Regions from separate parts of the Homo sapiens genome. Here all the other regions are linked to region 5. Evidence: promoter capture Hi-C in human tissues and cell types (Jung and others, 2019). All regions are on one chromosome and are shown on one strand. The core of a region is centred on a gene start or on the middle of the fragment in contact, and the rest is flanking DNA. Distances in the headings are between cores, read along the strand shown.

Region 1 (3,284 bases), core at 541-3,040, 830 kb before region 5:
GGGTCTGGAGAAATGAAGAAACACAAGAAAACATAAAACATACCTTTCAAGATGTTCTCCTGAGGGCCATTGTAAACGTAAAAAGAAAAAAAAGTGAGAAGGTAAATTTGCCTGTGTTGATTGTTCTGTTCACAGTTTAATGGTTTATTGGTTCAGTTGAGATTTGTTGTCATCGTAGGAACTGTTAGTACCTCAGCCTGTTTGCTGAGTCTAGCAAAATAGAACATTTTGCTTACCTTCTTTCTTTTGTTCCCAAAGCTAATTGCTGTGTATTTAACAAAAGACCCTGTTAATAACAAAGGAGGACCCCCATTTGAATAAACAAACTATTAGTCTGAAGTCACAAGCAATATTAATTCTTTATGGCTATCTGCTACTTACATGATTATTTGAGTGTAGTTTAGGAAAGGATAATGATCCAAATCTTAGGTGTTTCCCCTTTATGTAGCCATTTGAGAGGAACCAGATGGCCCCTATCCTTTTTCTTTTTTTCTTTGAAGCAATCTGATTTGAACTGGGCCAGGAACAAGGTTCTCTTTCCAGAGACCACAGAACTCCACCCTAAGAACATATGCAGTGAAAACTTCACCTTCACATCTTTCTTATTTGTTTAAACTGTTCCAACCTTCCCCCTTTACTGATAGCTTTTTTGGAAGATAATCTTACTTTCTTAGTTCACCTTTTATTTGGTTTTGAAATTCTGGGCATTTTCTAGACAATAGAATTTCATATTGGTATGTGCATATAAATTAAAGGATTAAAATGATTTATATGAGTGTGCATTTTTGTAAGGATATGCATATGATCAGTTCTTTTTGAGAGTCTATATTGTTACAAAAATAAGAATTGTTCCCCACCTCCACATGAAAACAGACAATTCTAACAGACTGAATTTCTAAACTGAGTGGCACTTGGTATTTTAAATTTGATTACTATTGGGAGAAAAAAGCAATTTCCTATTTCTTAATAAAAAATACTTGGAAAAATTCTTACAGCATTCTTAAAGCTTTGAACTTAGAAAAATTCTATATAAATGAAAGGCATGTATTTATGTGCCACTTAAAATTAAAGTTTTAAAATAAAAAAAGAGAATTTACAGCTGAATTACCTAACACTGATTCTGTCACAGGACAGAAACTAAGGAATCACCACCCCAAACTCAAAAAAGATTATCACCTATTATGTTAAACTTATTTAAAGCCTAATGTAAAATTATTTTTTATTAGGAAAACTGAATTATGCTAAAGGCAAGAATATGTAACATGACCCCAAAAGAAGCTTAAATACATGTAGTATTAACCTTTTAATATATAGAGTCTGTTCACAATTTGCTTGGTCAGGAATATCTTGGTCAAATAAGATTAGAAATTGATTTTCTTAGGAATTACTATCATGGAAATCTTTGGTGAATAAGTGATTTCTATTTTAATGATTTAATTGCATCCCCCACCCATACCATCACTTTAAAATTTCACTTTATCAGGGAGTTTTGTTAGTTCCAAGATGCTTTATGACCAAGAAGGTTTATTAATTGAAAAAAACCAACATGAAGAGAGAGGCTCTTGCTCAAGTAACCTGGCTTAAGTTATAGCGTGTCTCCTCAGAAAGTTCAAGAAATGTTGTAATGGTAGTGCACAATCTAAACAGATAAATTAGTTTCTTATATTTTACATTTTTAGTAACTAAAAGGAAATTCAATGCTAATTAATATATTGCCAATTTATTTGGCATTAAATTATTGCTAAATATATTTGTTGTTTATTTTGAATGTACTTAAGCATATTTTTCTGTTTGGGAGAAAATATTTCTATTGCATATATCTTAAATAGATGATAATGAATAGCTGTAGTCAGGTTTATCCACTTTGGGACTACTTTTAGAAAAGAAAAGTCCAAAAATACGTTCATTTTTATGTGTGCAGCATATGGTCAAAGATAGCCCATTTGACATTTTTGGGGGTCGTAAAACAAACAAACAGACAAAATATTAGCAACATTAACAACAAAAAAACTAACTCATTTACAACACATCCTTCTGAGGAGATGTGGTCCTACAGTTGTCTGTGGGACAATAAGCAATCAGTGAGTGGTATTTAGATTCCCCTGGCTTTGTGAAAGCATATTATTTTTCTGAAAACTTCTCCAACCTAAGCTGAGAGCCCCATAGATACTAATCTGAAGTTAATAATTAACATAATTAATATGTACTATGCCTAAATATACATCTCCCCTCTTCCAAATGTTTGATTCAAAACTAGCATTTTCACCAGCCTGGGCAACATAGCAAGATCTTATCGCTACAATTTTTTTTTTTTTTTAATTAGCCAGGCATGGTGGCACGAACCTGTAATTCCAGCTACTCAGGAGAGTGAGGTGGGAGGATCACTTGATTTCTGGAGGTTGAGGCTGCAGTGAACCATGATCGTACCAGTGAACTCCAGCATGGGCCACAGAGGGAAAGCCTGTCTCAAAAAACAAACAAATAAAAATTAAACAAAACCCTTCCATTTTCATTGACTAGAGTAGAATCAGTAAGTGATAAATCATTAACATTCTTGTTATACAAAGCCAAGTTTCTTGAACTGTTTTTTGATTGTTTTCATTGTACTTTTAAAACTTTTACAGTAAAAAAAACTGTAAAAAAAAAACAGAAGACAATTTGCCCCATCACACTAAATTTGATTAGACGACCCATTTTGAGAACTTTTAAGAAATCTTGCCATATTGCTTCCCGCTAGACTGAACACATTTACTTCTTTGAAATATTGAAAGTATGTCATCTGATTTAAAACAAAGCAAAGTGTACTTTTTTTTCCTTCATGTGAGTATTTTGGTCCATTTTAAGAGTATTTATGACCAGGCACCCGTGGCTCACACCTGTAATCCCAGCACTTTAGGAGGCTGAGGTGGGCGGATCACTCAAGGTCAGGAGTTCGAGACCAGCCTGGCCAACATGGCAAAACCCCATCTCTACTAACAAAAATTAACTAGGCATGGTGGCACACTCCTGTAATCCCAGCTACTTGGGAAGCTGAGGCAGGAGAATTGCTTGAACTTGGGAGGTGAAGGTTGCAGTGAACTGAGATGGTGCCACTACATTCCAGCCTGGGTGATGAAGTGAGACTGTCTCAAAAAAAAAAAAAGAATATTTATTTTTCTTTCTAATTTATTTACTGATTTATGACTTCTTTATGACATATATCCTGAGCAGAATCTACATGTCTATCAATCTGTTGATCTATCTATGTATATGCAGGGAATTTTTTTCAGTTCTTTAAATCATAA
Region 2 (3,258 bases), core at 108-2,607, 580 kb after region 5:
GAGAAAATCTAAGTTACCATGTCCCATTTCTTTGAATCAAGTAGATATGAGATACATAAAAGTATCTGAAGGAAAAAAAAGAATCACACTAACAGATACAGGTGTTGATATTTGTTAAATCAATATATGCTTCTTCCACAAGAATGTATTAAAATGAAAATTCCATGGAAAATTGAATTTTGCCAAAATAATCTCATAAATCTAGTTCTACACTAAAATCTTTATGTCACATATATGTGATATTTTGTATGCAAATGCTGTCTATTTAAACCTTCAGAGAAATAAGGAAAAAAAAACCCTTACATTTCTTTGGAAAGTGATACATATGTCAACCAACACACATTTTTCAACTTTTTCAGCAATTAATGTGAGAAATAATGAAACTTTGTGAAGGGCAGTAACAAACAAAGAACTGTGATACTAGGGATAGATAATATGATAGGAGCCTTAAAGAAGAGAGATGGTGGGAGGGAGCAGGGAAAGAGAGAGAGAGATCCTGCCCAGTCAGATCTCCAGAAAGGCTTTATAAAGAAGAGAGATTTACACAAAGCCCCATAGGATTAAGAAAAATTTTCTTAGGTGAAATAAATTTTACAAGACAAACATTTTAGGCAGAGGAAATGGCAAGAGATGATACACTTTCTTCTGTCTATAACACCCCCTATCTGTAACAAAAAAAAACTTTGTATCCCACAGACTTGGCACAGTACCTGGCATTGAATAGGTGCTGAAGAGTTGTTTGGTGCCTGTCATTATATGGAAAAGATCATGTTAGCTGTAAAATAAACAAAAAAAGGGGGAGGGCCTGTTTGGGAAATAGTTTGCCTGGAGTATGTGCCAGGATAGTAGTGGACTGTAGGAAAGAAAAGAAGCTAGACCAGAGCTATATTGTGAAAAAAAAATCAAGTATCAAGATAAGAAAGTTATGTGTGATTTATTAGGAAGTGGAGAGAAGTCAAAACCTTAGATGGGTGGGAGGAGAGGTGATTGGTTAGGAAAATTTTGCATCATTCTGTCCCAGTGGTCTCCAGAAAGGAATATATGTACCGTAAAGGGACAAGCAAAACAATCCACTAAGCTGGTGAGAGATAATTTTACAACTTCAACTCATATTCCTTTTCCTTCATTCAGAAAGCCTCCCATGTTCTATGCTTTATAATTAACGTAATAATCAGAACCTGTTAAGTTAGCATAATGAAATTTAAATAATATGTAACTAAAACATATGCCTCAGGTGGGATTGGAAACTATTTATTGAGTGTACATTATCACCCAAAACTTTCACCATCACTAGCTAGACTATCAATTCAAGCTGATGTTTTGGGGATTACTGCTCAGGAAGCTATCAATAAATCCCAAGAAACAAATATTAATTACTTGAGTTTCAAAACATTACATTCTAATTTGCCCTCACAGAGTTCCATTGTAGAAAATGCTGACAGTAAAGAAACTAGTTTATATAAAAAATAAACCAGTTTGTTTTTTATTCCAGTGATTCTTAAATTTGTTTGCATATGGACAAACTCTGCCATTGCACCTAACATCCTATGGACCAAAGTCCTGTGGAATTTCCACATAAAAATAAATGGAAAGTTGCCCATGTCTGAAGAAGAAAATATATTTGAGAAGTACTGTGAATAAAGAACAGTGTTTTTCTATGTTGATTCAAAGATGGTATTTTGGTGGCTGGAAGAACGTTAGCTGCAATAAAATATTAACTATTTTCAATCCACCAAGTTTGGCGCATTAATTTTGAATATTGGAGAAATACTATGCAACAAGCATGTGAAGACATGGGTATGGAATATTTAAAGAAAGAAGGTTTTATCTAAAGGTGGAAACGTGTGGGTCTCCAGTAAAAGATGACGAATGGAACTACAGAAATGGACAAGATCATTAAAGAAGAACAGTAATAGAAGAGAGAATTGTTATGAAGACTAAATAGGATACTATATCAATGCATTTCATACTATATCAGATACATAATATATGTTCAATAAAATGATAGTTTTTCCCTTTCCTTTGCCTTATAAATAAAATGTCTGCCATTTATCTCTTGCAGTGAGACAAGGGATAATCTTAAAAATATTTTAACCTAAAATAAATATTCTTCAATTTGTCATGAGACTATGTGTCTGAGTTAGGAGACTTGTTATATTAATTGACAAGAAAAATTATGATGAAAAGAAAATCTCTTCCTCTTTCTTCCCCCTCCTGTGCTATGATTGCATTCACTCATTTAAACTGTGTTTTATTTTGGTATCCAATCATCAGGGTGATTGGGAAATGTCTAGAAAACTCTCAGGCCAAAATACAATGGCCTGGTCACAAAGAGTATAAACATTTTGGCATCTGCAGACATCCTGATCCTCAATTTCAGTTCTCTGCCACAAGGTGGGATCATGCATTCAGCATACCAAACAAATACAAATTTATTCTAAGTTTTAAACTTCTACAGAGGAAATTTTCATATATTATCACTTCTCTTATTCCTATACATTGCTAAATAATCTAATGGTGAAAATATGTATCTAATTCCTGCTGATTTATTTAGAGTATTTCTTATTTAAGTTCATAAAATAATACTTGATGCATAAAATAATACATGTAGAATAAGTATGTGGTGATTATAATAAGAAAACAAATTCACATAACTCTTATTTTTATATGGAAGAACAATCAAAAGAGCCATACATGCCTGAAGAAGAAAAATAAGATGAGGTAGGGGGTGTCTAATAATTAAACCTTGTGTTACTACCACAGGCACAAATAATAATATGATCCAAGGAGGAGAACAGAAAGCTCAGGAAGAGATCTACATGTGGCAGAAACTTGACCTGTGACAGTGGTGGCATTCAGATCACTGGAGAAAGGATGCTGGGACAACTGATTAGGCGTACTCTTACTGTGTTCACTTTGGAAGAGCTGGAAAGCAGCTAGGGGGCAGACATCAGTACAATATACTCCTTTTCTGAAAACTATCCCCCATATCAGCTTTTGTTTTCTAACTTTATAACTGCAAGCATACATTTGGTTTGCTTCTTTTCTTTTTTTTCTTCCCAGGGCATTTCCAACTTTTTGCCTATTTTTCACATTTTCTTAGGAAACATTTTCTGTGAAATTCCAACACAAGACACATGACTTCTAAGTAGTGCTAAGAAAACTAAGAGGATTAGTTTATACAACTAGACATTTCCAAAATAAGAAAGTTAGCAAGATATTGACCAAACTACTCAAGAAAGGCAGTGTAAAAATGTG
Region 3 (3,384 bases), core at 163-2,662, 910 kb before region 5:
GTTAGGACATTTAATACTATTATCTGCCACATCAGCAAGCTTCCTGTTCATCAGATGACTTATCTGATTTTTTTCCTCTAATATTTTGATAAAGTTATTTTATGAACAGAAGCAGTAATGAATACCCCACGTACAAATCTACTTTACCTTTGTAGAAAGTAGGCTATGCATCATCTTACTCTGTTATCCAGTTAATTGCTATGCATCTTGAGTTTAAATGTATACATTTATTTTTATATGAATATAGTATCACAGACTTAAGAGCCATAATTTAATAATAAAACAAGGACTGGTTATTAATCACATGTAAGTAACATAAGATATAAAAAACCCATCCAGTTTCTTCTCTCTAAGCTCACATAAGGATATAAACATAAACATTTTAATGATTTGGCAAAGTATCTTTTTAGCTAACATGATAGAGAAATCTGTATCCAATTTAAAAAATTTTTTAGGAACATATGCCTATGAAAAAATGAGCAATGAAAAAATAAGAATATGACTTTTTGGTCATTGAGTCAATCACTACATTTGTATTTGTAGAGAGGTTGTAGAAACTTAAAAATTAGAATATGTGTAGATAATAATCAAAAACTGAAAGTTATGATTGGTATTACTGGCAGTTTGTTTGTAATTTAAGGAAGATGAACTGTTTTAACTGCTACCAGTCATCATCTTGTTCTCTGTAAAACAGTGGTTAGTCATTCAACACATACTGATTGAGCATCTAGTATGTGCCAGGAATATGCTAGGGCAGTGAATAAGACTAACATGTTTCTTGACCCCATGGGTTTTAAAATGTAGCAGAAGAGTTGCACTCTAACCCAGCCCTTCAATTACCTGTGTTGTCAGCGTTTGCAAGGGGCAGTGCAACCAAGTAGGTGGGGATTTTTTTTTTTTTAGGAGGGGGAGGAGGAGTACTAATTAAACCTTAAAGAACATTAAATATATATATCTCATAGCCTTTTTCCACAAAAATACTTGTGCATATTTCACTGTTGTGTGAAATTATTTTTTTCCTAGTATTTCTAATTCCTTTGAAAACAACTAAGACTAAACTCTTACCTTTCATTAACTAGTTGCCACTGGGCAAGATGAAAACTGATTCGTGCGTGAAATGGTTTGCTTAGAGTCAGCGTGCTAGTGCTTGGCAGTTGCCGGATAGAGCCCAGAGTCCTGACTCTCCAGGCAGTTTGGAGAGAACATGTCCTGCTCCCTGAGAAGAAAGATTGCCAATGAAATATTAGAAAGTCTTATGTCTGATTTTAACCTAGATATATTAAGTGTTGGGAAAATACATGAAGTGACATAGCACAGAGGGGCCATGTGTACACAGGAGTGTTGTATGTGTGGGATTTAGAATAATGCGTGAAGACTCCAGGATAAACCAGATATGTAAGTCATGGTGCTAGGTAGTAACATAAATGCTGTTCAGGACTTTGGAGGTAAAACAGCACTTATTTTTCTATGCTTTCCTTTTAAGAGAAAAATTTAAGACTAATAGGATCATAAACATTGCATTTGTTTTATGTTGAAATTCTGCATTGATTTTTCGATTTGCCTTCATGATTATGTTCTTGAGTCTGATGACATTCTGGTTTTCATTTTCAGATTCTTATTTCACCAGCATTTTCTTTGCACTACATACCTTGTTGTAAAATGCAGGTTTCTTGGTTTCCAAGGGGAAAAAATGTATATTACATAGTATAGCTGAAATCCAAAATGTCTCCCAGATGGAAAAGAAAGAACATTCATCTCATCTTTTCCTACTGGATCTGGCTGGGTTTTGGAAAGGACTTTATTATTTTCATGTGGCAAACTGCGTTGGCAAATTGTTCCTCAAAGTACGCAGTGGCGTGTTCATCTAATATTATAAGATATGGGCAGCATTTATGAAAGATTATAAATCTTACAACCCTCTTCAGAAACTTAAAATACAGCTGGAAATGTTTTGCTTCCAACAAATATGCAATCTTCATAAAATTCGAAAAGAAATGTTTTGAATAAATAATGTTTTAGTTTATTTCTCTCTAGTGCGAGAGCTATTTCTTTTAGTCAAAATCGTGCCATAAAACTCTTCCCTCCTCTACATTAGCACCCTTGCCTCTGTATTTATATTATGCTGGTGCATTTAATGTATATTTTTAAGTATGCCAGATTGCTTTGCCTTGTTTTTAAAGATAGAAAACTGGATTTGCTCCCAGGGACTCTTTCCCTAACTCGACCAGTTTAAAAACTAAGCAAGGATTGAGTCAGTTAATTAATTTAAATAAGATTACAAATCAAAAACATATTATGCAATCTTGATTTAATTACCACATTTTATTTACTTAATTGAAAACACACTGTAGAAAGTCAGCAATCTTGACAATGACCAGTACGGTGTTTTTGCATTCTGTAGGTTAAAGCCTTCAAAAGCAAGAACTGTAGGTGATCCTGATTATGACCTTTGGTTCACTCAATCCCTAGATCAGTAGGAAGTCATTGAACTTAATCTTAGGTTAGGGCAGAAAGGTCAGATATGATTATCCTAGCTTCCCATTGTTGTGGGGGGTGGGTTGGTACTACTTAATGAAGTACCACAGCCCTCTGGTCAGAGATGTTGGCAGGTTTAACACTTTTTGTGCAGGGTTTCATATTTGCAGGGGATTCATTAGTAGTCCCCTGTGGTAGAATGATTTGCTTTGATTTTTTTTGATATATGATTTTTGATAATATGATTTTTTTTCCACCTTAAATTTCAGTGGCCTATTTTTTCAGTTAATTCCCTGTGGACAAATTTCAGTCTTGAGCGCTAACAAATCCTTATTTTAATCCTTGGGATATGACTCTTTGTACCTAATCTCCTTGTTAAGCAAAAAAGTGGCTCTTTAAAAGAAAGCTTAATGATAAAACAACTGGGATGTTCAGGAATGAAACAGGATATATCGTATATCTACTCTCTTGTTCTGTAGTTTTCTTTGGTTAATGAAATTACTTTATCATGAAGATCTTAAGTGTAGCAACATCTTTTTAAACTATGCGTTTTGCTAAATCAAACGTATATTTTAAAATCAATGTTAAACAACAGAAAGAGGGATCTGAAGATATAGGTCTTCATACTTGAAATAGTAAATAGTTTAAAATATGCAGGAAACTGCATCTCCCAAATATTATATTGGTTCTGCCAAAATATTCAGAGAGGTCTAATTTCTCTTATTGCTCAGAACTGGGTTTAGGAGGAGTACGGATTCACTAAAAAAACAAACAAACAAACAACAAACAAGATCAGGGATTCCATTAACAAAGTGATAAAGTTAAAACTTTTCATGAACAGCTTGTTAAGTTAAGTTTTGCAGTGAAGTGGACTCCAAATAATTTAATGCCCTATTGAAAAGAGACAGA
Region 4 (3,521 bases), core at 467-2,966, 930 kb before region 5:
GTTCCATAATTTGCCTTCAGGACCAGCTCCCTAATGTGTGGGCCTCTTGTTCAAAAATTAAGAGTTTCAAGATGGTGACAGAAGAGCATGAAGCCAAGCATGGGGACCACGTAAGTGGGGCTCTATGTGACTGCATGGGTCCATGCTCCTGACACTGGCCCTGTGTGCTTTGAGATCCTTGAGCATGCTCAGGACCTGTGAGGAGAAGAGCAGGCTGGTGGGGAAGGGGAAGTTGGTGCCTCATTCAGGGATGTGCTCAGAGAAGTGCAGGTTCTCTCTTTGGGCTTTCCTTATCTCTGTCGCTTCTTCAGGAAGGGGAATTAATGGGGGGCTAGGATGTGGCCTATTTGGGGAGCAGAGTGGGGAGTAATAAAGAAGGGTTGAGGAGGGCTCTGCTAGAAATATTGGAAACGAGACCTGATGCATAGCCCGAAGGTGGCATCGATTCTTAAGTAAAATGATGTGAGGTGAAATGAGGGGACTCTTCCCCCCTTAAATTTGGAGCAGTGGGAGTTGGGGGTATGTTTACAAACCACTTCTGGAATGTTGAGAACAGAGGCAAGGAAGCATGTGATAACAGTTCCTTACAGTTTTAGGACACAGGGAACACATTTTCCTAAGAGCACAGATGAGGGACATAAAACTCAGCCCAGCAGCTTGGGGTATCAGGAAAGGCCCAGAAAGAGATCCTGAGCAATGCATCTGGGTGGAGACCTGGGTGTCCACATACTGTTATTCATTTAGCACTTTGGACTTTATGCTAAGGGCTATGGGGAAACCACTGAAGGCTTCTGGAGAGAAGCTACATCAGACTTTCATTTTCTGAAGTATTTCGGTTTCCCATGTTACTGTGTAGCAGTGGTTCCCAAAGTTTGGTCCCACGACCAGCAGCACTGGTCTGACCTGTGAGCTTCTGGGAAATGCAGATTCATGGGCCCTATCTGGACCTATTAAATCAGATCTCTGAGGATGGGCCAGAAACTCTGTTAGGACAAGCTCTCTGGGTGATTCTTGTGCATGTTAAAGCTTAAGAACCACTGCTGTGGAGAATGGATGGTGGACCTGACTTAGGAAGTGTTTATTACAGATCCCTTATGTGACTAACAAGGAACCTGGGGGCCCGCGTTAACTTTCCAAAGATCAACCTGCTGGTGGATAGGTAACTTTCCAAAGATAAGTAACTTTCCAAAGATCAACCTACTGGTGGATGGTAATCAAGAAATACCAGTTACCTGACTGTGCCCAGTCTTTCTGCCATGGAAACTTCCCAGGCAGTGAGAAGATTATCATAGCATTTTAAAAAGAAAGGTGTAATTATATGCTATATTACCTTTCAGAAACAGCGCTTACAAAAATACGAATGGAAATAGGCAAATAATGTAGTGCATAAACATGATTGATGTATAATTTTTGATTTTATCACATTTTATATGTGATGCATATTGTGTTTGTGTGTCTCTGAGACTGGAATGGGGAAGCAGGAAGTAGCTGTTATCTTAACTTAAGCTAATTATTCTCTAAGCAGTGAATTTACTAGGGCTATGACCTTGGGTAAAACATTTAATCTCTGTGAGCCTCAATTTCCTTATCTATGAAATGGGGATAGTAATATCTACCTAACACAGTTGTTAGCGTAAGGTGGCTTATGTGAAAGTGTTTTGTAAGTTGTAAAGCATTTAAAGCATTATAAGTGTGAGCAGTATTTTTTTATCATATAACTTAAATCCAATCATCTAGCAAACATTTATTAATTATATTATGTGAAATATTGTAAGTGTAGAGTTTTAAACATGTTTTTTTTTTTTCCCAGAGGAATTATAACCTTTTGAGATGATTACCTAAATTATTCACACTATTACTCAGTGGTGAACCCATTCAAACAATATGGACAATTTTATTAGAAATTCCCAAATCTATATTTTGGATTGAATTTAACCTAGTTGTTAGTTGTTTTCTAACCTTGTTTTAATTTTTATTTTTAGTAGGGATACTTAAGCACATTGTGACATGGTGTACTGTACTTTAGTATGTTTAATGTTGCCCTTAAGGAGATCATTCAGTTTAATAATTAAATGAGTATATAATCATTTGTATAACCTTCCAGGAAAGCAACAAAAGTGCATGAGCAATTTCTAAGTAAAATTAAGTCAGTGAGTGGTTTATGTGACTCATCAACCTTAATGTGAATTGGAGTAGTTTTGCTTTCATCAATTGGAAATAAGTATTCTAATTATTTGTATGAGTCTTTTGGTTGCCCAGTTAAGCAGTTAGATGTTCCTTACAGCCGTAGGCTAGGCTTTCTCAGGGATTTATTAATTTATGCCTCTTTCATGTTAGAATGGTTCATTTTTAAGGAAAGTCCAGTTACCTTTAGAGATGACACTTATTTTATGATAAATGGCAACGTATTTGCATTAACACTAAGGCCATATTCCATTTCATATGGGCTAAATTGCAGCTACCAATAAAACCCAGTGGTACATTATTTTGATGTGGGTATTCTGGTCAGTGGAGAGATCATTCTTTAAACGCTTTAATCTTTTAAATGTCTATTCTTTCTAGAGGCTGAAGAGCTTTCTAAAGTGTATACCTCCTTTATTGAAAGTACAATATTCATGTCACAACTCAAATCACTTTTAATAACAATATGCTATACTGTTCAACTCTGATTTCCTTTTGGAGTCTACGAGAGGGCTGACGTGGAGGGGCCCACCAGCTGGGGAAGCACAGCTCAGACGGCCCCGCAGGGTGGATGGCACAGAATCTGATATAAACGGGTAAACTTCTGGCCATTGCCCTGGTCACCAACTCCTTTGACTTGTTTTGTCCCTGGCTCTGGATTCTGTCTTCTGGATTCAAATTGCAGTTTGTCCAGTTCCGTGCCTTGAGTAACTATACTAGTATTTTTTTAAGGTAGACAATGGGAGTGGTCAAAGCTTTTATCTATTCTCATTATTTTTCAGCACAGTGTCATTTTAAAGTGAGTAGAATTATTTTTTTAACTTTGTTTCTTAACCAGTGTAGACCCAATTTATGTATTCCCTATATCCTGTTTCTGTGCATTTCCTTGCTGTTTCTTACTATCGATCTAGGATAAAATGTATTTCTTTTAAGAAACTTCCCAGGTCCATTCATATCTGAATCCAGGATGTTTTTTGAGTGCAGTTTTTAAAATTGAATTCTAATTCCAGATTTTAAAAATAGCCCAGGTAATATTACTGTTAATCACACAGAAAAACTATTTTTGAATACAATATTGTAGAGGATTAAGCTAAGAGCACTGTTGTTTTGAAATGAAAAATTTTAATTTTACCGCAAGTTTTTCCAGGTTGCAGTGATACTTAACATTGTACAAATACATGTATGTAATTAATACTTTAAATTTTTAGGGAATGATTGTTGAGTATCTGGCTTTCAGTCCAAACAGAGACAAAAATGATCATGTATACAGAGAAGCAGAAATTCAGTACGGTTTCAACCTATTAATTAGACTTTCCTTTACTTTCCTATAATCAAAGGTG
Region 5 (3,179 bases), core at 509-3,008:
AAAATCCTTTCCAAATGGGATGCCTTGAGGTGACTCTATGACAAGAACACAAAAGTTATATGGAGAAATTATTCATTCTTGCAGTCGTATATTCATCCTATTTCATATGAGTGCCAACCAAGTGTGAAGTTTTTACTAGGCTCTGAGGATAAAATGGTGACTTAGCCCCTGTTCTCATGGAGTTTATGGTTGAAGAGGGAAGAGACATTGCATAATTACAAAATCAAATGCATATTTACAAAGTAGGAAAAATATTATGAAGCAAAAGCATAGGGTACCATAAGAATGCATCACAATGGGTTTATCGTAGTTTGTGGGAATCATGTAGCATCTATGGCAGTTCCATTCACTGGGACACTGAACAAGATGACCAGGCTTGAGCAGAAGTATCACGGCTGCATTTTTTTTTGCAATCTAGGTTTGAGACAAGCAAACAGGGAAGCCAAATAAACACTTGAATATATGGATAAATCTGAAGGTATAAATGTAAGATTCTGTAGGTACGAGATCATAAGCTAGAAGTGAAAATGTATTTAGAGGTAAGAGTTAAAAGGAAAAGAGGGCCCGTAACTGATTTTTAAGGAATTCCAGCATCTAAAGATTGGGGGAGAGGAGGCAAAGAAGACTGAAGAGTGGCCTGGGGACAGGGGCAGATCTACCTGGAAATTGATGTAGCTTAACGTTCCGGGTCCTTCTCTTGCCTGGGAGCAACCCTAGCAATGTGTTTACATGGGCATTTATTTTTTGAATTTTTCTAAAGAAAGATTTTTTTTTTTTTTTTGGTTAAAGCAGAGCTCCCAATTGTACAAGCTTCAGAGCCCATACATCCGCCCTTGACTAAGCGGAAGAAGCAAAACCAAGAGTGTGATTGCATGGAATTACAAGAGGGGTGGGGTGGGGAGGACTCTAGGAAGAGAGAGGTCAACAGCTGTGAATGTGTTTGAAAGTCCAAGGAATATGAGAAAAAAGTATTTTTATTCAGAATATTAAAAGAAATTCTTTTAAATGTTCTAAATTGGACTTCTGAGTATCCTTTGGTCCTATAATCTAATATCAGAGGGATATTTTGAAAAAGAGTTTCTTATGCAGAAAAAAATTCGTGGGACTTCCAAATTGAGGATAACAGAAAGAAAATCTTAAGTGGCACAAAATAGAAATGAATATCTGTTCTTCCTGGGGCCATGCAACTCTAATAACTTTTCCATGTTTACTGTTTTTGCTTTTTAATTGGATCATCAGACTAAGAATGCACCCTGATGTGCGAAAAGTTACTTAGAAAGTGAGAGGACTGCCCCCACCCTTCTGATTAAAGCGCTTCTCATAAGCATCCTATGCCATTCAGTAAGCTACCCATGCAGAAAGCATCCACAGGGCAGTGCACATAAGGAAAATCTGAGGAGCTAGAAACAGGCTATCAGTTTCCGCAGGTTGACAAAATCGGCAGATAAAAATACAAGACTGCCATTAAATTTGAATTTCCGATAAACAACGAAGAACTTTTTAGCATAAGTACGTCCCAAATATTGCATGGGATATACTTGTACTAAAATTATTCCTTTTTTTTTTTATTTGAAATTCCCATTTAACAGAGCAGCCTATATTTTATCTGACCACCTCACAAGTCCACTACCCACACCCCAGGTCGAGCGGCCCAGGAGCGAGTTTAAAACCCCGCACAGGCCTGCTCGGCCGCGTCCCCTGATTGGCCAAGGCGCGCCCGCCGCCCCGCCGGTCGCAGGCGTCACGGCAGCCCCAGCAGCCTGGGCCCCGCCACCGCCTCCGCGGCAGCCCCGGTCGGCGCAAGTGCGGCGCGCGCTGGGGGAGGGGGCGCGGCGGAGCGCTAGGCTGGCGTCGGGCCACCGCGGGATTAAGTTTCTCAGTCACGCGTGAGTGTCTGTGCGTTTTGATCCGAAGCTCCTCGCCGGGTCGTTACTTCAGAAGAGAAGACAGTGAGCGTGGGCGAGGCGAGGCATCCAGAGGCCCCGGCGACCCCTGCTCCCCAGTCCTCCGCCCCCTCGCGTCGCGGCCCTGGGCGGGCGCCGCGAGCCGGGTAAGCGGCGCTTGAGCCCCGGCCCAGAGGCCGAGGCGCGCCCCCGCGCCCTGCGCGCGCGCCGGCGGGGAAGGTGCGCGGGCGCCCTGGGCTCGGCGCTTGGGGGTGGGGGTGGGGGCGGGGATGGGGGTGGGGGTGGGGGTGGGGGTAGGGGTGGCGGCGGGCCGTGGGGCGGTGGGGCGGTGCGCTTGCCCCACCCCGCGCGGCCCGGCGCTTCGCGGAAGCCGCTGCTGTGGCTTTTTTAAAAGGATGGGGTCTAGAAGTTTCCTTTGCTACTCGCAAGTCTCCACTCCCCCCAGCCCCGCGGTGGATAATCCTAGACCTTTCAGCACCCCCGCCACCCCTTTCTTTTGCTCTCGCTGACTAAGAGGTTTAAAAGTTTTTCCTTTTCCTTGACCCAGAGGGGCACAGTCTTGGTGTCGGGGGGCTGGGGGTGGGGTGTTAGCCTGGGGGCCCGGAGCGCAGACCAGGCCTCCAGGGCGCGGGAGCCTGTTGCTCTCCCCTGCAGGGGCCGCTCCCGGACGCCCCATCCGCCGTTACGTGGTCCCGGGATGTGCGGGTTGCGGTAGAGAGTGGGCAGCAATGCTCCTGGTCCTGCGTTCTCGCCTTAGCCGCGGGGACCCCGAGGCGAGCCGCTAATTGGTACCGGTGCCCCGTCCCTCACCCCTGGCACCGGCGCCCTTTTAACCGCCGCTCCCGTTGGTGGGAGCACGTTGGTCTTGTCTCTCCCTTAGTCTCCTCACCCCCCGCGCTGATGGGCGTCTTTGTCTGCGATTTGGCAGCCCCAGGATGCCGGATGTTACCAGGGAAGCGATGTTTGGGAGACGCTTTGTGTCTTGCGGAGTTGCGCGTTTGTTGGGTGGTGATGGTGTACATTTTTGTTTGCGTTCTTTGCAGAGGCACAAAGGCTGGGCTATTCTTGCCTGCAGTCACATGGAAATCAAGCGGAGACTGCGGGGGAGGAGAAGTGGCCAGGCGCCGGCGGGAGGTAGAGGCCGCTCCGTAGTCACTGGGGGCGAGTGGGGGCCCCTGGAGACCTCTACTGCGCGGTGCGGCTTTTGAGGTGCTCCGCTTGGGAAGACCCCGGCAATGGGCACTGACTGCCTTTTTGCAGTAGGGGCTGCGGTTG
Region 6 (3,557 bases), core at 633-3,132, 810 kb before region 5:
CCATCTATCACTCCAAACTCCTCAAGTGCAGAGCAGCTCAAATGTGGTATCATTACTGATGGGGAGGAGCAGGAAATGCTCAGGCTTCTGTTGCAAGCCAATGTAGGGAACCATGAATTGGAAGGAAAAGCTGTGGCTCTCTCTAAAAGTAAGTTAAAGAGGGTTAGAATAAGAAAACTGCTGGAGAGCTATAGAACTAATCAGTGCAAGCAGAGACCTTTGTGGCCTCCTGTAAATGTTTTTCCTCACGATGGGTATTCTGTAGAGAACAAAAAAAGCTGTGTTCCATTTTGGTTCTATGATTCTTATTTGTTCGGTCTTTACTAAAAAACTCTGATTAAGGTATGTTTGATAATTGGGCATTTCAAATTGTATGTTATGCATGGGCCTACCTTAAACATGTAGTTTTTTTTCCTGTTGTAAGGAGAAAAGAAATATCTTTCACCGTACTTTTCAATTGTATTCAACCCAATAGGCAGGTAAGAAATTGAAACCCATCTGACCACTGAATTGCTTGTGAATTAAAGGTAAAATAAGATTAGAATGTAACTGGCAAAGTATATTGGTACCAACAGATTGCTGCTTTTCTTTTTCTTTTTTTTCCTGTACAAAAAAGAATGATATTGCATTTATATTGATTAATGTAAAATATTTTAGAATATCCTCAATCGGTTAGAATTCAATAATTGTTTATATATCTTACTCTGGATTTTTCTGCCTCACTTTAGTCTTAATTTTCATTTAAAAAATAGACTATAGAGTTTAGATAGGTGTAACATGTATAATTTGGCACATTTATCTCATATTAGACTGTAATTTTGAAAATAGGGATAGCAATAATTTGATGCATCTGGAATTTATATTTCTCATATTGTTGTAGATTTTAACATTGTATTTTTTTCTTTTTTCTTCCCTCCCTGCTGCCTCTCTCCTCTCAACAGTCCTGGTACCTGGGCTAGCTTGGTTCCTTTCCAAGTGTCAAATAGGACACCCATCTTACCGGCCAATGTCCAAAATTACGGTTTGAACATAATTGGAGAACCTTTCCTTCAAGCAGAAACAAGCAACTGAGGGAAAAAGAAACACAACAATAGTTTAAGAAATTTTTTTTTTAAATAAAAAAAAAGGAAAAGAGGAAGACTGGACAAAACAACACAAAGGCAGAAAGGAAAGAAACTGAAGAAAGAAGATAATAGACCAGCAATTGCAGCACTTACAATCACTAATTCCCTTAAGGTTGAAACTGTAATGACATAAAAAGGGTCGATGATATTTCACTGATGGTAGATCGCAGCCCCTGCAACGTAGCCTTTGTTACATGAAGTCCGCTGGGAAATAGATGTTCTGTCTCTATGACAATATATTTTAACTGACTTTCTAGATGCCTTAATATTTGCATGATAAGCTAGTTTTATTGGTTTAGTATTCTTGTTGTTTACGCATGGAATCACTATTCCTGGTTATCTCACCAACGAAGGCTAGGAGGCGGCGTCAGAGGTGCTGGGTGACAGAGCCATGAGCCAGCCATTTTATAAGCACTCTGATTTCTAAAAGTTAAAAAAAATATATGAAATCTCTGTAGCCTTTAGTTATCAGTACAGATTTATTAAATTTCGGCCCTTAACCCAGCCTTTTCCAGTGTGTAACCCAGTTTGAAATCTTAAAAAAAGAAAAAATGAAAAAAAAAGGAAAAAAAGAAAAAAGGAAAAAAACAGTTTGAACACAAAGGCTCTATGGAAGAAATGCCTCTATGTAGGTGAAGTGTTCTCTCTGCATGCAACAGTAAAAATTAATATAATATTTTCCCCACAAAAGAAACACTTAACAGAGGCAAGTGCAATTTATAAATTTATATCTAAAGGGGAATCATGATTATAAGTCCTTCAGCCCTTGGACTCTAAATTGAGGGGATTAAAAAGAATTTAAAATAATTTTGAACGAATTTATTTTCCCCTCAGTTTTTGAGGGCATTAAAAAGGCATTAAATCAAGACAAATCATGTGCTTGAGAAAAATAAAATTAATGAAAACACAGCACTTATGTTGGTTTAGCTGCAGCCTCCTTGGAGGTAGAATTTATTTATTTAAAATTACTGGTTGCATCAAGAACCCATAGGGTGTACAAAAGGTTCTATAAAATCTGCATTATAGAGACAAAGAGGCAGGCAAATCCATGTCACAAGGGTAAAGCTTACAGTTTACAAACTGGGAACGCCAGGGTGTAGGATATAAAAACGCACTCTTGAGAAAACAAATGTAATCAGGGTGCTGAAAACTTGCATGGTGCTTTCAGACATTAGCCTTGTTCAACAAATTTCTTGTATTGACAGATCCATAGTGTGCATGGGCAGACACATTTTGCCTCTATGTCTCTTAAAATTTTAATTAAAAATACTCTTTCCAGTAATCCTAATTTGCACGAAGATATAATGTCCACATTACGTGCCTTGCCTTGAAATCTAAAAAACAAAAAACAAAAAAAAAAAAACAAAAAAATACAACAAAGTGACATCACTACACTTGTTTTGCTGCATTTATTATCATTTTAAATCTTTACCATTTTTATGACAAAATATTTTGTACTCCAGACGAAGAAAAATGTGTGACATCATGGATTTTTTAGACAGTTATACCTTTATCTCACATTTATAAAGCATATCATGGCTGTGTATAGTTGCCGCTTAAAAATTGTAATCGACCAGCAATATTTTCAGTATTTTGGTGTTTTTTTCTATTAACCTTTCATGTTTTTCATCTTCCAATTAATATTTGGGGGGGAGGGGTTTCAAATTTATACGAATTATGCAATACCAAGTTTTGCCTATGTAGGTAGTGCTTTTAGCTGTATTGGTTATTATAGGTAAGTACACAGATTTAAAAAAAAAATAATGTATGCTTTTTTGTTTGTTTGTTTGTTTTAATTGACCAAAGTGGGTACTGCTATTTTTGCAGTGTGATGAGGTCCTTTTGTGTACTGAGAGATGGACAGGGGATTTTTTTTAATATACATATATATATATTCTGGGGTGGGTGGGAGGATTTTTAACACTTTGCAGTGTAGCTGTGAAGCAGTGCACCCTGAGATGGGCCTGGGCTGCAAAGCGACTGTTCTGCCTACTGTGACAAACTTCAACTTACACAGGTTCCCCTCTCTAACTTCCCACCTGGGTTGCAAGCTGAACTCATTACTGGTTTTCATAACAACACAATAGTAAGAACAAGCAAACACAACAAATTCTCCTGGAGGCAGACTTGGCTTAAAAAGGCAGACTTGGCTTGGTGATAGTTTTTCTTGAAAGTTCCAGATCCACAGTGGAGAGTGAGCCTGTCTCATATTTGGCAAAAATATTTGTTGAAATGTCCACATAGGGGATGTTGGATGTTTAACACTTTTGAGAGTTTAACACATGAATATTCTTTCTCCTAGAAAACACATTAGACCTGTTGGAGGGAGTCTCCCGTATTCCTTTTCTGCCACTTTTCGTCCCCATTTCATTTCATTAATGATAGGATATGATTTACCTGTGACTTACTACTTCAAATGGATGGCAGTGCACT
Region 7 (3,331 bases), core at 634-3,133, 560 kb after region 5:
AGCTGTGACTACTAAAGCCATCTTAATTACATGAACATGTAAAGAAAAGGAAAGCAAACCAATAAACAAACTAGGTTTAGAGGAGGAATTTGAAATTCTCTGCTAATTGGTGAAACCAAAATGTCTATCATAGAAGTATTCTAAGTAGAAATATAGCATAAAAAGATTCCATGTAAAGAGGAGGAAAAATAATTGGAGAGCAGGAAATTTGGGGGAAGATTTATGAGGTAAAAGCAGAATTCTTCAGTCAGTTTTACAGTCTTGATTCAGTGTCTTCTATCATTGCCAGAAAACTGTCTAAGAATAAACTTTTCACAGCAGTTTAATGAAGAAAAATGAAGAATTTGGAACTGGCCTCATTTTTATCTATTGGTAATAACTGAGCCAATTTCTCAAAATGGGCACACAAAGAGAGTATTTATGGTAAGCTCAAAAATGACCCCCGAAGATGTTCAGGTCCTAATACCTGGAACCTGTGAATGTTACCTTATGTGATAAAGTGGACCTCGAAGATGTGATTAAATTAGGGACTTTCAAAGGAAGAGATTATCCTGGATTATTTGGTGGGTGGGTCCTAAATGCAATCACAAATTTTCGCATAAAGTAAAGATGGAGGGAGATTTGACAGAGGCAAAGAAGGCCATGTGACATAAGGACATGTAAGCAGAGTCAGAGAAGATATGATCCTACTGGCTTTGGAGATAGAGAAAGGGCCATGAACCAAGGAATGCAAGGTATGACACTTTCTGTAGAAGCTAGAAAAGGCAAAGAAAAAGACCTCCCGAGACAGTACAGGCCTGACCATGCATGGGTGTCAGCCCGGTGACTTTGTAAAAACAGCTTTCAGAAGTGAAAAAAATAAATTTGTCTTGTTTTAGGCCACTAGGTTTGTTGTAATTTGTTACAGTAGCAAATATAAAACTAAAACAGTACTTTGAACTTATAAAATAATTTCACTAGAGATCTTCAAAGATATTCTTAAAAAAAATTTACTTAAGCAGAATTAAAATTATTTAATGTTTTGACAAAGTACAAAATAAAGTCTCAAAAAAAGTTGACACTGTCCCAACCTTATTCTCTGGAGAACACTGATAGATGAAATTTAATCTTGAACTATGAGAGTGACATGATCAGTTAGGTTAGTCATAAGGTTATGGAAGAAACTTGAGTAGACTAAGAGTTGGTGCCTAAGAAAGGCTAATAATTTGTCACCCATCCAAACTAAGAAATGAATAAATATTCATCCATTATAGTTGGCAGAGTCACTTCCATCATGGTAATTTTTTTTTTTTTTTTTTTTTTTAGTTTTTAGTTATTTCTAAGTTCCTGTCTGTGATCAGAGAGGTACCTGATTTTGCCATAATTGGAGAGGTTTATCTGTGAGGTCATTAGAATTATATTTCTGAATTTTCCAGTGGTGGTTTTCAGACTTTGCTCAGGTAACAGAGTAATGGTAGAGATATGAGACGTAAAGTGCACTGATTGGCTCTTCGGAGGGTAGGGATTGTGCTGGCTTTGAAGTAGGAGCTCTGAAAAGGATCTCAAAGATCCTATCAACTTGGCTTTGCTTCCTGATTGCTCTGTATGTGATTATCTACCTGATCCAGATCTCCAGCGTTTTTTGAGGACTACAATCATACCAGCAGGAATTTAGACACATACATCTATCCATACATTCCTTGTGTGTCATATAAGAATTGGATTGAGGGCTTCATGGAAAACTGACAGAGCTATTTACATTACCTGAGATTTTGATTAACAATAATTTATATGATCTCCTCAGAAACATGTTTTGCTTAAATTACATGTCAAGGTATTTATTTAGAGAAATATGATGTCACAAAATATTCACAACTGTTGAAATAAATAGTCTATACAAGTCTTCATTGTTTTGCTTTGCTTTTTCAGATTTCTGGGGCTTTGACAGTTTTCAAAATAAAGCTTGGAGAAAAATTACAAAATAGGGCGTAATGAATTTCTTAAATACACTGAAACTATCGGTGCAGGCGTGTCACTATTACTTTCCTGGTTTGATCACTGGGAGTCATCCAGTTGATACACAGCCTCCTCAGGAAACTTAATTTGGAGAGAAAATAGAGAAGGATTCTCTATGACTGGAGGAATGTGGATGACAGTGTTTTAATAGAATACATGTTATGATAAATGTCAGTCACACACTCATTAACATATTTGTATCTTGTGTTATTTTAAAAATTCTGTGTTAGTCTAATTAAACAAATCTACGCCATTGGTGATAAAGGTATAATGCAAGACTTCCTGCCAATGAGCATTTTAAATTGAGCCCAATTATTGTAATGGGTATCAATAATTATCTACAAAGTTTATTGAAATTTTAGAATGTTAATGTCTGTCCACAGGACAAGGTAACTTATGATAGCCAATAATGAATGATAGGGCTTTCCAATGCCAAAAAAAGATGGAAAAAACAATGTGTGTTTGTAGAAATATATCATAGCCATATCTTGTTCTTTCTAGTACAAAATCTATTCTGTCATCTGCAGATGAACATTCATAGTGGCAAATTTAGTTCAGTTTTCAAAAAAAATCTTTCAAATGTATAAATAGTATGGACTAGCAGTAAACATTTATTTTACTGTGCTCCTACTTTTTTCATTAAATCTAAGCTTTAAAAGTTCTGGGAGTATACTGACACCTAGAGGAAAACAGCTTTAGGTATCATTTATTTCCAGTGGTTCTTACAGCCGCTTGTAGATAGATAAAACTCTCATGGCTGGGGCTTATTTACAATGCTTTTTTTTTTTTTTTTCTTTTCTAGGTAGACTTTAAATTTAGTTTCTATAGGAGTATCTCATAGTAAAAGGTATAGAGTAATATGGAGGAAAGAGAAGGAAAAATTAAGAAACCTCATCCTTTAATGAAATAAGAATTCATACCAAGATTAAACAGTATCCTTGTCACTCAGTAATGCCCTGTTCTGAATGGCCACAGCTACTTTCTGAAGTCAGTAGTTTGAAGATAATTTTTTAAAATAAATTGAAGGCAGATTTTTTTACAAGTATATATTATGCAGTTTATTTGAAAGAATGAAGTTTGTATTGGAACAAAATTATGGTATTATACATATATGCCTAACAGTTTGGGACTTGTTCTATGTCTACACATGCTGTAAGAATTTATTTATATATTTTAAGTCTAATTTGGGGAATCAGAACTAGATATGCATAGTCTGATTTTGCCTCAAATACATGTTCTTTTAGAGTTTAAATTGAAACATCACAGTCACTCAGACACCGAACAGGGAGCACTAAACGTATTGGGAAGGGTTTCAATCTTTCCATGGTAAAGGGAC

What was found. The method cuts DNA at HindIII sites, captures the fragments that hold promoters and counts their contacts. A contact is called where the count stands out against the background at its distance.
Region 1: a fragment that was not itself captured here is called in contact with the fragment with the promoter of MPDZ in region 5 in 1 of the 25 tissues and cell types used here (dorsolateral prefrontal cortex).
Region 2: a fragment that was not itself captured here is called in contact with the fragment with the promoter of MPDZ in region 5 in 1 of the 25 tissues and cell types used here (mesenchymal stem cells).
Region 3: a fragment that was not itself captured here is called in contact with the fragment with the promoter of MPDZ in region 5 in 4 of the 25 tissues and cell types used here (IMR-90 fibroblasts, dorsolateral prefrontal cortex, mesenchymal stem cells and 1 more).
Region 4: a fragment that was not itself captured here is called in contact with the fragment with the promoter of MPDZ in region 5 in 2 of the 25 tissues and cell types used here (dorsolateral prefrontal cortex and lymphoblastoid cells).
Region 6: a fragment that was not itself captured here is called in contact with the fragment with the promoter of MPDZ in region 5 in 2 of the 25 tissues and cell types used here (dorsolateral prefrontal cortex and mesendoderm cells).
Region 7: a fragment that was not itself captured here is called in contact with the fragment with the promoter of MPDZ in region 5 in 1 of the 25 tissues and cell types used here (heart right ventricle).

What each region holds. Positions count from the first base shown.
Region 1 is chr9:14,103,783-14,107,066 of GRCh38, reverse strand. The region is part of intron 10 of NFIB (nuclear factor I B); the gene reads left to right. Among named protein-coding and RNA genes, the nearest start is that of LINC00583, 180 kb to the right of the region's middle. The HindIII fragment of the contact is 3,850 bases long and covers 1-3,284 here.
Region 2 is chr9:12,698,861-12,702,118 of GRCh38, reverse strand. The region is part of intron 4 of TYRP1 (tyrosinase related protein 1); the gene reads right to left. It overlaps LURAP1L-AS1 (LURAP1L antisense RNA 1), which reads left to right. Exons shown (of 4, transcript NR_125775.1): 4 at 1,493-2,120. Among named protein-coding and RNA genes, the nearest start is that of TYRP1, 7.1 kb to the right of the region's middle. The HindIII fragment of the contact is 8,728 bases long and covers 1-3,258 here.
Region 3 is chr9:14,187,117-14,190,500 of GRCh38, reverse strand. The region is part of intron 2 of NFIB (nuclear factor I B); the gene reads left to right. Among named protein-coding and RNA genes, the nearest start is that of NFIB, 130 kb to the left of the region's middle. The HindIII fragment of the contact is 4,047 bases long and covers 1-3,384 here.
Region 4 is chr9:14,210,922-14,214,442 of GRCh38, reverse strand. The region is part of intron 2 of NFIB (nuclear factor I B); the gene reads left to right. Among named protein-coding and RNA genes, the nearest start is that of NFIB, 100 kb to the left of the region's middle. The HindIII fragment of the contact is 3,827 bases long and covers 1-3,521 here.
Region 5 is chr9:13,278,271-13,281,449 of GRCh38, reverse strand. MPDZ (multiple PDZ domain crumbs cell polarity complex component) reads left to right here and starts at 1,758. Exons shown (of 47, transcript NM_001378778.1): 1 at 1,758-2,050. RefSeq lists enhancers at 2,135-2,850, 2,851-3,179. The HindIII fragment of the contact is 5,465 bases long and covers 174-3,179 here.
Region 6 is chr9:14,085,711-14,089,267 of GRCh38, reverse strand. NFIB (nuclear factor I B) reads left to right here. Exons shown (of 11, transcript NM_001190737.2): 11 at 942-3,557. The coding sequence ends at 959. Among named protein-coding and RNA genes, the nearest start is that of LINC00583, 160 kb to the right of the region's middle. The HindIII fragment of the contact is 5,711 bases long and covers 1-3,557 here.
Region 7 is chr9:12,718,982-12,722,312 of GRCh38, reverse strand. All of the region lies in intron 3 of LURAP1L-AS1 (LURAP1L antisense RNA 1), which reads left to right. Among named protein-coding and RNA genes, the nearest start is that of TYRP1, 27 kb to the right of the region's middle. The HindIII fragment of the contact is 5,784 bases long and covers 1-3,331 here.